Regions from separate parts of the Homo sapiens genome. Here regions 2 and 3 are each linked to region 1. The links are contacts of gene promoters, found by promoter capture Hi-C in human tissues and cell types (Jung and others, 2019). All regions are on one chromosome and are shown on one strand. The core of a region is centred on a gene start or on the middle of the fragment in contact, and the rest is flanking DNA. Distances in the headings are between cores, read along the strand shown. Region 1 holds the start of RHCG (Rh family C glycoprotein). Region 2 holds the start of MIR9-3 (microRNA 9-3). Region 3 has its middle 9.3 kb from the start of TRR-TCG1-1.

Region 1 (3,952 bases), core at 1,190-3,689:
CAACACCACCCCCTTTTAGTGGCCCCCTTGGCTGCTCGGCTTCTCCCCTCCTCACCATCCACCACTTCCCAGGAAGCCATCACAGATCACTTCTGCTCAGAGCACTTGGTCCCACTGAGGCCCTGGGTGCCACGGTGCCCCTCTCTGCTTCCAAAAAGTCTGGGGACAGAGACCCAGGATATTCAACTTATTTATCCAGAGTGACCATAGCCCTGATTTGCCAGGACAGTCATGGCTTATCCATGGGTCCCAGCAAATTACTACCAGCACCACCTTCACTCTCAGAGGTGTCCTCTGATGATGATAAATTGTATGATCACACTACAGATAAGCACTTGTTGCATGAACACATTAACCTGGGGTGTGAAAGGTGGGTGGGCAAGTGTGGTGCGAGGAGGATAAGAGCTGGGGAGATGTAAGGACTGTACCTCCCCACTGGTGAGGTTCTGCAGCTCCTATTATAGGGTCTCTCTCTCTCTCTCTCATTTCTTTCTTTTTTTTTTTTTTGAAAGGGAGAGAGATAGAGATTCACTCTGTCACCTAGGCTGGAGTGCAGTGGTGCTGTCATAGCTCACTGTAGCTTCAAACTCCCAAGCTCAAGCGATCCTCCCACCTCAGCCTCCCAAAGTATGCTGGGATTACAGGTGTGAGCCATCGCACCCAGCCTATTTAAGGTCTTGAGGTCCTCCACTCCCCAGACACATTGAGGACCTGTGAACGCCCATGGGAGTTCTTGCCCCTTATGCTCTGGGGTCAAGTGGGAAGCAAGTGCGGGAGGGAGGGAGAAGAACAGGTAAAGGAGGGTCTCAAGCTTGCCTGCCTCACTGTTTGCTGGAAAGTCCCCCCCTTGAGGAGAGGAAAGGTGGACAATGTGAACAGTGGATTTGGAGCCTGAATCCCAAGGCTGCAGCTGTCTAAGATATCTTTTAAAAAACAGCCCTAAATGGAGCCCAGGAGAAACTGTGGTCTCCCCAGCAGGGGGCGCACCCCTTATCTGTTACTTCCCTTCTAGGCACCAAGTAACTATTAAATGCAGCCCATGATAGCCCTAACTTTTTGGCAGCCACTTAATATGGCTGGCTCCCACCAAGCCTGCAGCCCCCCAAACGCAGTCTTTTTTCATGCAGGCTGCCATTCTGAAAGTGTGCAGTTGTTTTCTTGGAGATAGAGAATCCCCTGTTGCCGAGAATGTCTAAGGTGTGGAGGGAATACCAGTTGATATAGGCGGCTGCTGGAGAGGGGCTTTAGGGTCCCTTTCAAAGCTAACAGTCAATGACTACATGAACACCACCGGCTAGAATAATTTTCATTGGCTGATGGCGGATGGAGTGGAAAATCAGAAAGTACAAGGGCATTCTGATTTTGGGAAGAGCCCCAGGCTGGGAGTCCAGAGGTCGGGCAGCTCAGAGTGACCTTGGGCTAGCTCTCCCTGCTCCTGAGTCCTAGGGCACCTGTGTTTGGTGCTCTTGTAGCAATTGCTCCATTATGAAGAAAGGATCCCACCCCAACTCTGCCAGAGCTTTACATGCACTTCCTCGCCACAGCCTCACCCCAACCCCTGTGAAGGAGGTCCTACCATTATCTTCATTCTGTAGATGAGGAAATTGAGGTTTAGGAAGGTTGGCATTTGCCTGAGGCCAGCCACCTGGTTTGTGGCAAGAGCCACGAGAGCATGAGAGAAAGGGAGGTGTGTGATTGTAGGGTCATGCTCTTAACCACAGCACCGCTGACACCAGAAGATTCAGGGGCGCTTGTTTTCCCTCTCCAAGCTAAAAGGGGGTGGGTGTCCTGGCCTCCTGGCCCACCAGTGGTCCCACAACACCTCTGCCCACAGCAGGGCTGGCGCTTATTTGGAGTAAGCGCTCCTCTGGACAAGGGAGCCAGGTCATCCACTGGTTGGTAATGGGGCGAGAGGACTCGGATCTTCTTAGTATACCAAGCAGGGCTCTCTGACAGGGATGTTGGGGGGCTCTGACGGCTGGGAGGGCGGTCAAATAAAAACCTCATCCCGGTGTTTTCCCTACTAGTTTTTCACGGGGAAAAGGAGTTTGTGCACATCTGACAATTTCCCACGCATGCCCTGCAGAGGCCGGCGAGATGCGGAGTCCGCGGCTGCAGGGTAGATCCCCTCCTCTGCCCAGCTCTGGGCCGAGCCCTTGGCCAGGTGGGGACCGGCGCGGATATGCCTCCGCTGGGCCTGCAGGCGGCGAGACTTACTTGGGTAGCGATAGTAGAATTCGTTCTCCATGTCGCTCAAGTTCTTGTGCGTCCTCTCTGACCACCAGTGGGCGTCGGCCTCGAAGTCGTAGCGCACGAACACCCCGAAGAGAATCACCATAATCACCTGCAGGAGCAGGCAGGTGAGCGGCAGCCGCCAGCGGAGGTTGGTGTTCCAGGCCATGCTGCAGGGGTGCCTGGCCGGGCTGGCAGCGGGCGGTTCGGACGCTCGGAGGCCGGCGGGGCTTTTGAGACCCGGGCAGGGGGGCGGGGCGGCCACGTGGGGCACGGAGCAGCTGACTCGGGCACCGCCCGCGCGCTCGCCCAACTGGCAGGGGCCCAACCCAAGCCGAGGGCCCCAAAAGATTCCCCGCGTCGGGCTGGGGGACAGCGGCAGGAGCAGAGGCTAAGGCAGTGGGCAGGAGGATCAGGGTGCCCCAAATTCTGTGTGTCCCGTTGATACTGGGGCCTTTCTCCTTTTGTTCTGCTGAACAGAGAAACACGGGGATCATTGGCCTCCCAGTGAGATCAGAAGGAATTCCCAGACCTAAGTCATCATCATCAACATCATCATCATCTGCCATCATCATCTGCATCATCATCTGTCCTTTCTTTTTCTGATTATGAAATTCATACAGGGCACATGAGAAACAAGGAATGTTTGGGACACTGTCACACAACAGAGCGGCCTGGGGAGACATCTGTGATGTGCTACCCCAGACTTGACCCTGGAACAGAAAAAGGATGTTAATTGGAAAACTGGTAAAATCCAAATAAAGCCTGAAAATTAGTTAATAGTGACGTTCCCATGTTGTTTTCTTAGTTGGGACAAATGTCATGGTTATGTAAAATGTTAACAGTAGGATAAACTGAGTAAGGGCTATATGGGGACTGTCTTTGCCACTTTTCTGTAAATCTAAAATTATTCCAAAATACAAGGGTTTTAAGAAAAAAAACACGTATAAAGGATTGTAAGAACAATTTAAGAGTTTTTCACAAGTTCATTGGTCCATAGTCAGGAACTGTCTTCTGGTTAAGATCTGTGATCTTGACATGAGTTAACCATAATATTTAGGTCTGGGAATTCCTTCTGATCTCACTGGGAGGCCAATGATCCCCATGTTTCTCTGTTCAGCAGTATAACAGTCTGTATATTGTCTGCTTAGTCTGTATATTGTCAAAATAAATTTGATTTTCTAATTTTTCTTTAAAAATACAGAGATAATTGTAGAGATTTGGAAAATACAGAAAAACACAAAGAAGAAAGTAAAAATCACTCATAATCCCACCACCCAGAGGCAATACTAATATTTTGGTGTATGTACTCTAGTCTTTTCCTAGCTCATTGAAGAGGGGCTGGAGGGGAGCAGGGGGAGTGTTTCAAACGATCATACTAATTTATAGCGTTTTTAACTCCTTTCATATTTTGTAAACACCTTCCCATATTATACTTCTACAACTTTTTTTCTTTTTCTTTTTCTTTTTTATTTATTTATTTTTTTGAGATAGGGTCTTGCTCTGATGCCCAGGCTGGAGGGCAGTGGCTTGATCATGGTTCACTGCTGCCTTGACCTCCTGGGCTCAAGTGATCCTCCCACTTCAGCCTCCCAATTAGCTGAAACCACAGGCATGTGCCACCAGGCCCACCTAATTTTTTTTTTTTTTTTTTTTTTTTTTTTGAGACAGGTCTCGCTCTGTTGCCCAGGCTGGAGTGCAGTGGGGTGATCTCGGCTCA
Region 2 (4,020 bases), core at 411-2,910, 130 kb before region 1:
AAGGGAAGAGGGTGCAGGTTCCTGGAGCTGCAGGAGGAGGGGAAGCAAGGGGCGCCTCCCAATTATGGAAATTCATGGAATTAACTGTCTCGGGCCCAAATTCAGAGCTTCCTTCCTGAACCGTGGCTGGCCTCTCTGTTCCTCTGCTGGTTCAGCTGTCCAGCCCTTGTTCACCTTCTGGAAAAAGGAATGTGTCTGCGAAGTGGGATTTCGAGGGAAACATGTACATAGCAGATTTGGTTGGTCACAAGCTGGCTGGGATGAGAGCAGGATGTCACCTGCTTCGGATTTAGAGATGGGATGAAATTAGAACAAACCACAGACAAGCAATGGGGAAAGAGGCATTTGACAAAATCCAGAACTTGACAAAATCCACATGTGTCATTTTTAGGGGAGTGTATGGAAGGAAGAGATTTTTAGTAAAATCATGAAATCTTTTCCAAACCATCCACTTTTGGCCCCTTCTTTCCAACCCATCCTGCAAGGGTTTTACCTGGCTCAGAGTGGCCCAGTGCCCCAGACCCCACTAAAATGAATCTGCACGGGTACCTCCACCTAACCCCACAGTGCTCACTGTAGACAGCAGCAGTGAGAGTCTCTGTGACTCCCGTGTATTGACTGCTGGAATCTGGGAATCCACTTGCCCAGTCCCACATAAAATCTCTCCCTAGCTGTTGAGCTTAAGATTTTTCTGGGGGTATCTAGGAGCAAAGATATTGCATTTTTCATACTGAATCCTTTGCATCTTGGGGATGGCTGACAGGCGGAGGTGAATCATAGGGCTCAAGGCTGGAGGGTAGCCACAGCAGCAAGGAAGAAGGGGGTGATGGCTGGCATGAGCACGAAGTGGTACCCATAGGCCACTCACATCTGGAAGGCTGCAATGGTACCACCAATTCAGCTGCCAGCTCAGTTTAGGGGTGATTCCGGGAGACCCAAGGTGGCAGTCCCTTTCCACTGTTGCGGCTACTTGGAGTGAGTAGCCAGGTGTGTGCTGAGAGCTGAAGAAGGAGAGTGGAGGCATGGCTTTGTGCTTTAATTTTTGGTGAAATATGAATTTAACCAGGAGCCAAGAGAGAGCCTAGGACTTCTCCAAGGTGCTTGGCACAATCGGTTTTACACTCCTAGTGTGTCTAGGAACCGAGAGAGAGAAGGGACCTAGCAGCTTGGTACTCAGGGCCCAGGCCAGGGCCTCGCCCAAGTGGAGCATAGCTGAGGAACCTCTGAGTGCCAGGTGTTATGGGTGGGACACCGACCTGCGCTCACCGGGACACTTAATTCTTCCTCCAATCCCTGGTCTCTGCCGCGTGGGCTAGATCTACTGCAAGTGCTGGGCATGGGGAAAGGAAGAGAGAAGTTAAAGGTGAAATGGCTTCTGCTCTCGGCCTCTCCGTGAGCGCTCTCGGCCCTCCTGTGGAGATCGCCACGTCCTATCACACGCGTCCCTAAACCTTGTCACTCGAGCATTCTTGTCTCCCAAACTCTGATGGTCCGCAGTGGGTACTGGGCTCCCTGGGCCCTGGGAGGAAGACGGAGGAGTTTGGGTGAAAGATCAGACGGTGCGCAGCCCTGAGGCTTCTGAGGGCAGAGGGTGCGCTTCCTTGCCCTCGGGGCGGGGAAGCCGTGAACGCCGAGGCCATTGTAAGGCTGGGTGGTGCGGAGCGCGGGAAGGGGGCTGGGATTTGAATGGGAGCCTGTGATTGGCCGATCCCTGGACTGACGTCACTTCCCCGCGGGGCGATTAGCCTGCGAGAGGAGGGCCGGCGGTCCAGTGCGCTGGGGGCGGCCGGGGCGCTCGAGGCTCTCTAAGCGCTCCGCGCGGGTGCCCTACGTGAGCCCCGGGACGCCGTCGAGGCAGGCCGGCAGCGCCGGTGCCAGGACGCACGGAACGGGGAGCAGGGGAGAAATGCGCCGGGAGGGCGAGGGAGGAAGGGAACTGGGCGGGGGCTGCGGGCCTAGGTGGCGGGAGTCAGCGTGTGCGTGTGTCTGTCCATCCCCTCTGGCTCTCCGCGTGCGCCCCAGGATCCGGGCACGGCGTCCGCTCAGGCTCCCGCGCTCGGCAGGCAGCAGCACGTGGAGCCCACGGCGCGGCAGCGGCACTGGCTAAGGGAGGCCCGTTTCTCTCTTTGGTTATCTAGCTGTATGAGTGCCACAGAGCCGTCATAAAGCTAGATAACCGAAAGTAGAAATGATTCTCACAACTTCTGCGTGCGAGCGCCCGCCCCACCGACCGCCCCGGCCCGGCCCGCAAGAGCCAGAGGAGCCGAGAGGAGCCCAGCGCCGGCCCAGCGGACTCCAGCTCGACGGAGCGGCCGCGCCCCGACCAGGTACCTGACCTCGGCTCTCTCTCTGGGGACACTTGCAGTGCCAGCTTTCCCCCAGTCCTCCTCTTTCCTGGTCCCCCACCCCTATCCCCCAGCGCCGGAGCAGGAACCCCAAAGTGGAGCGGGCCGGGGAGAGGGAGGGGGTTGGGGTTGCAGAGGGGTCGCTGGAAGGGGAAGGCGCCAGCCTTCGCCTTCACCCCATAAATCAGGCTGGAACAATCCGCTCCCGGAGCCGTGGACGGGGATTTTGGGATGCAAATGCGATGGGAGAGAGACAGCGGTCGGTAGGGGGTGGGTGGAGGGAGTGAATGGGGTGGGCTGGGGGCTGCCCTGCCGCTAACAATGCGGCCTTTATCGAATTATTCGACGAGTCAGCCCCTGAGCGCCATTAGCATACGGCTGGGGGGTTGCCGGAGCTTCGCCCCTCGGTGAGGTCAAGTTCTTGATAATTTGATCACTTTTCACGGGCTCTGGCAGCTGCCTTTGTGTGCAGTTGGGGGGTCTGTGTGCAGCGTGAAGCGGAGCAGAACTGGCGGGGAGTGCGCTCAATGGCAAGGGGCCAGGGCAGGGGCCTCCCTCCCCGACGGGTCGGCCCTGCCCTGCATACAAACCAAGAGCCGGCGGGTGGGCGGGAGGAACCGAGCTCAGTCTCCCGCTACCTCTACGCCAGCCCCGACCGGGCTGCTCCTGCCCAAGCCTCCCCAACTTCCCGCGAGGTTAAGGTGCAGGCAAGCTCCCAGAGCTCCCCCTCCTCCCTGCCCCAAGAAGTCACGACATAAGATGTATTACAATGTCTAGCAAATAAAAAAGCAATTGGGGGAAATCTGAATTCGTTCCCATGGCAACCCAATGCAGCACACCCGGCCACTCAGGCTCCCAGCCCCTCTTAACTGGGCTCAGGGAGTGGGGCTTGCCCCTGCTCAGTGCGTGGGGGTCCCGGCCCCACACAGTGCTAGGGTCCCTCTCGAGTTTCTCATCTGCCTTCAGGTCACTTTCCACCCTGATGCCTTGGCTTGTCCTGAAGCTCAGGGCCCCTGTAGCTTGGGAAACCTCCCAAGCTCCCCAGCGAGTGGCTGTAGACCAAGGAAGGGACCCTGCCCGGCTTCAGGGAAGAAAGGAAGAAAGGTAGGCTCAGACTCCCCGATTGGTAGGGGGGCTTTCTAAGTATATGGGTATGTGAGTGCTATGATAGACAGGCTGAAAGGAACTGGCACCACCACCCAGCCCTGACCCCCATCCCCTCACCCTTTTACATGAGAGGAAACAGATCTGGGGATCTGAAGTGACTCCCTAAGGGTCACACAGCTCAGAAGGCAGAGCTGGACCCCAGGCCACCTTACGTACATCTTGGCTCACTTCACTCCCTGGAGCCTCTCCCTTAGTGATTTTCACGGCCCCTCTTCTCCCAGCCTTTGCCCAGCCCTCTTGTAAAAATAGAAATATTTTTTCCATCTTCACTCCTGCAAACCTTTTTTGTTCTTTGCCTAACAAAATTATTTTGAATATAGGGTATATATGTAAATGGTGAAAATTCAAACAGTACAAAAGGAAAACCCCTTGGCTCTGGGGAGGAGAACTGTGTGGCTGAGGTGGATGGTAGAGGGAGACTTTTCACTGTATACCTTTGGAATTGTGAACCCTGTGAGTGTGTTAGCATTCACAGTAAAATTAAATAAAAAATACACACAAAAGACCA
Region 3 (4,140 bases), core at 1,629-4,128, 150 kb before region 1:
AACAGACTGAGATTTTTTTGTTTTTTTGTTTTTGTTTTATTTTATTTTTATTTATTTATTTTTTTTGAGACAGAGTCTTGCCCTTTTGCCCAGGCTGGAGTGCAGTGGCACAATCTCGGCTCACTGCAACCTCCGCCTCCTGGGTTCAAGTGATTCTCCTACCTCAGCCTCCTGAGTAGCTGGGATTACAGGCATGTGCCACCATCACGTCTGGCTAATTTTTGTATTTTTAGTAGAGACAGGGTTTCACCATGTTGGCCAGGCTGGTCTCAAACTCCTGACCTCATGATCCACCCGGCTCGGCCTCCCAAAGTGCTGGGATTACAGGCATGAGCCACCGCGTCCAGCGTGGTTACCGCTTTTTTAAAAAATAATAATCACATCATCTTTTAATATATTTTCCTTTTTAAAAATAGAGATGAAGTCTCACTATGTTGCCCAGGCTGGTCCCAAACTCCTGAGCTCAAGTGATTCTCCTGCCTCAGCCTCCCAAAGTGCTGGGATTACAGGTGTGAGCCACCGCTCCCAGCCCTGGCTACCCTTGAAAACTTCCTGCAAACCACTGTCAACCTCTGACCCTGCTCTCAGGAGTCTAGGGGCCACAGGCAAGAGGGGCTGAATGCTAGCAGCTGGGGCCTAAACTGCCTCAGCTCGGGGACCAGCAGCATCTTGCAAAGCAGAGGGCCTGGGCTGGTGGGAAACTGCTGATGAAGCCTGTTGGCCCCAGACAAGGGGTGCGTCTGGTGTGTGTGGCCCTGGGCTAGGCAGGTAGCCCCAGGAATCCACAGGAAGAGAAGATGGGGATCAGCTGCCCCTCCATGGGTTTGCAGAAAGACTCAGTGGCTCCCAAATGTCAACAAAGGCCACTGAGGTATGACCAGTGCCCAAGAGGCAGGGACAAGGACAGACAACCTGCTGAGGACTGTGTCCCATTGCAAGAATCAGAGAGCAAAGGTGGCTGCCCTGACACACCAACACGGGGCTCCTTACCCTTCACTCTGGAGGTTGGTGGGGTCTGGCTGTCCTGGCTCATCCTTACCTGGGCTCCTGAGTGGGCCATCTTTACCTGGCAGAGCCCAGACTCCATGACCCCTTCAAGACTGTCTAGCCTCCTGCCAGCCCTGGGTCTGATGGGCCATGAAGAGGCCTGTGGATGGCGGAGGCCATGGTCAGGCTGGAGCCCCCATATCTGAACCTAAGCTCCACCAGGTGGGGGCAGAGAGGGAAGGCATGGTGGAAGCTGTCAACGCACTTCCAGCCCCAGTCAGGAACAGCACGGAGGGTCACCGGGGCACCCTGCTTTGCTCAGATGGGAAGATAAGGCTGGGGAGGGGAGGCCGGACCCACCAAGGGGCAGGCGCCCCCAGGGCGAGATCCAAGCAGCAAACTCTGGCTCTTCATCACCTCCATGGCCTCACCTCCACCCTGAAACTCTTGAGGGGAGCTCCAAAGTCTCCATCCCTTCCTAGAAACACAAGAAACTGACACCATTGATGCCTCCAGGTGGCGGGACATGGTAAGGGGGAGACTCTGACTTAAATCCTGTTGTGGCTTTCCAGTTTTGAATTGTGAACTTGTTACCTGTTCAAAAAGAATACATTATTTTTATATAATATATATATTTTAAATAGCATATTAAACTAAAACTTTTAAAAAAAGGAAAGGGGCAGTGCAGTGGGATCACACTCGTAATTCCAGCACTTTGGGAGGCTGAGTCAGGAGAATAATTTGAGGCCAAGAGTTTGAGACTAGCCTGGGAAACAGAATGAGACCCCCATTTCTACAAAATATAAAAAAATTAGCCAGGTGTGGTGGCATGCGCCTGTAGTCCCAGCTACTTGGGAGGCTGAGGTGGGAGAATTGCTTGAGCCCAGGAGGTTGAGGCTGCAGTGAGCTATGATTGCACCATAGCTGGACTACACTCCAGCCTGGGCAGCAGAGCAAGACCCTGTCTCAAGGGAAAAAAGAAAAGAACAGAAAAGCTTTAATCATCTCCCCCTCTCATTGCTCCCCCTCCACCCAGGAAAGCCAGGTAGAATCTCTTCACTCTTTTCTCCATGTTCCAACAAACATCAAAACACACAAACAGAAGACTTTTTTTTTTTTTTTAATTGAGCCGAAGTCTTGCTCTGTCACCCAGGCTGGAGGGAAGTGGCATGATCTTTGCTCACTGCAACCTCCACCTCCCAGGTTCAAGGGATTCTCGTGACTCAGCCTCCCAAGTAGCTAGGACTACAGGCGTGTGCCATCACACCCAGCTAATTTTTGTATTTTTAGTAGAGATGGGGTTTCACCATGTTGGCTAGGCTGGTCTCAAACTCCTGACCTCAAGTGATCCTCCTGCCTTGGCCTCCCAAAGTGCTGAGATTATGGGCATGAGCCACTGCACCTGACCCAGAGGCCTTTTTAAAAAACTTTATTTATTTACTTATTTCAAATATGGGATCATCCAATACCCAGTATTCTGTAACTGAAAGCTATCATTCAGCTGAATATCATGGACATCCCTGACTGATGAATAAACAGTCAGTTCTCATTATTGGCTGTAGTTATGGTCTATAAAGTCACCATGACCATTGAATGAGCAAATATGGAAGCATCGTTCCTAGAGGAAATACACATTTAGGTTCCTGTGAGCCTCTGCTCACAACATTTCAATCAAATGATCACTACATAACCTTGTGTTATGTGTGTTTCCATTTAAAGGCACCTTATTTACTACATACTGTTGATTCATTAACATTGAACTCACAGCCAACAGTGCTATAACTCATGCCTGATTGAAGCTAATCTAACATACGTATTTTATCTGTAAGGCACATCACAGCCTACTTGTGCTTGGGAACAGTAGAGAGCACTTCAGCACTGAGCTGGGAGGCCGTGTTACACAGCAAAACCACCAACAAAAAACACAAATATGTGAAAAGCGTGATCTGGAATAGACTGCAGAAAGAACATTTGTTTACAGCACAAGAGCTGAGACAAGAAGACAGAGCGTCCCCTTGTTCAACCTCACAAATGGCCACTCTGCAAATGCCCTCCAATGACTGAAAACGCCATGATTATGGATTTAGGGATTACAAATAAATATTAGAGAGTAGGCAAATTCACAAATGCTGAATCATGAGAATCAGCTGTATATAGATTTAAATGTATTTTCTAAAATTTCCACATTTAATCTTTTGGTGGGAAGGATTTTTTGCTTTTTTTGGTAAACAGACAAAAAAAAATGGTCACTAAAAAAGGCGGCTGGGCATGGTGGCTCATGCCTGTGATCCCAGCACTTTGGGAGGTCAAGGTGGGCAGATCATGAGGTCAGGAGATCGAGGCCATCCTGGCCAACACGGTGAAACCCTGTCTCTAATAAAAATACAAAAACATTAGCTGGGCATGGTGGTGCATACCTGTAGTCCCAGCTACTCGGGAGGCTGAGGCAGGAGAATCACTTGAACACGGGAGGCGGAGGTTGCAGTGAGCCAAGATCGTGCCGTTCCACTCCAACCTGGGTGACAGAGGGAGACTCCATCTCAAAAAAAAAAAAAAAAAAAAAAAGGTGGGAATTGGAGGTGGCAATTGGACTGTTACCTCCTCTGTTAACTGTTATCTGCCACCCTGGTCCCTGGGACAGAGTTAAAGTGGCAGCAACCTGGCTGGCCCCAGCCCTTGACATGAGTCTGGCCCAGGGTGGAAGAGGGCACAACTCTTCCTAAAGGCACACGAAAGTCTGATGACTGGTAGATAGTAAGCTGGACAGTGTCTTCAGGCTTCCCCACTTGAGGGCCCCTCTGACTGCGAGGGAAGCAACGGAGGCATTTTATCCCTGTTTTACAGATGAGGGAATGGGGTTCTTGAAGCCCTCTGCTTGAGGCCACATGGCGGTAGATGTGGCTGAGAGCCCTGCCCTTGAGCCTTTTGGCTTGAGGCTTCATGCCAGCATCCACGGAGGCACAGCTTCAGGGTCCCTGGTGGCCCAGCCACTGGGCAAGAGAGGATGCTCTTTTCCATCCCTGGGTCTGGCTAGAGGCCCTGGAGGGAGTCAGGGTCCTTGCCAAAGAGCAGCAGAGCCTGCCGTGAAGTGAAGGCTTCTGAAAGAAATGAGTCTGAATCCTGGCTCCACCTGTCCAAACTGTGTGACCTTAA

The links. Contacts are between HindIII fragments. The study calls those that stand out against the background at their distance.
Region 2: a contact is called between a fragment that was not itself captured here and the fragment with the promoter of RHCG in region 1, in 2 of the 25 tissues and cell types used here (IMR-90 fibroblasts and aorta).
Region 3: a fragment that was not itself captured here is called in contact with the fragment with the promoter of RHCG in region 1 in 1 of the 25 tissues and cell types used here (dorsolateral prefrontal cortex).

Annotation. Positions count from the first base shown.
Region 1 is chr15:89,494,144-89,498,095 of GRCh38, forward strand. It overlaps RHCG (Rh family C glycoprotein), which reads right to left and starts at 2,440. Exons shown (of 11, transcript NM_016321.3): 1 at 2,218-2,440. The coding sequence starts at 2,401. The HindIII fragment of the contact is 31,959 bases long and covers 1-3,952 here.
Region 2 is chr15:89,365,909-89,369,928 of GRCh38, forward strand. All of the region lies in intron 1 of MIR9-3HG (MIR9-3 host gene), which reads left to right. MIR9-3 (microRNA 9-3) reads left to right here and starts at 2,109; the gene lies at 2,109-2,198. RefSeq lists an enhancer at 1,716-2,329. The HindIII fragment of the contact is 9,312 bases long and covers 1-4,020 here.
Region 3 is chr15:89,342,327-89,346,466 of GRCh38, forward strand. No RefSeq gene overlaps it. Among named protein-coding and RNA genes, the nearest start is that of TRR-TCG1-1, 9.3 kb to the left of the region's middle. The HindIII fragment of the contact is 7,036 bases long and covers 1-4,140 here.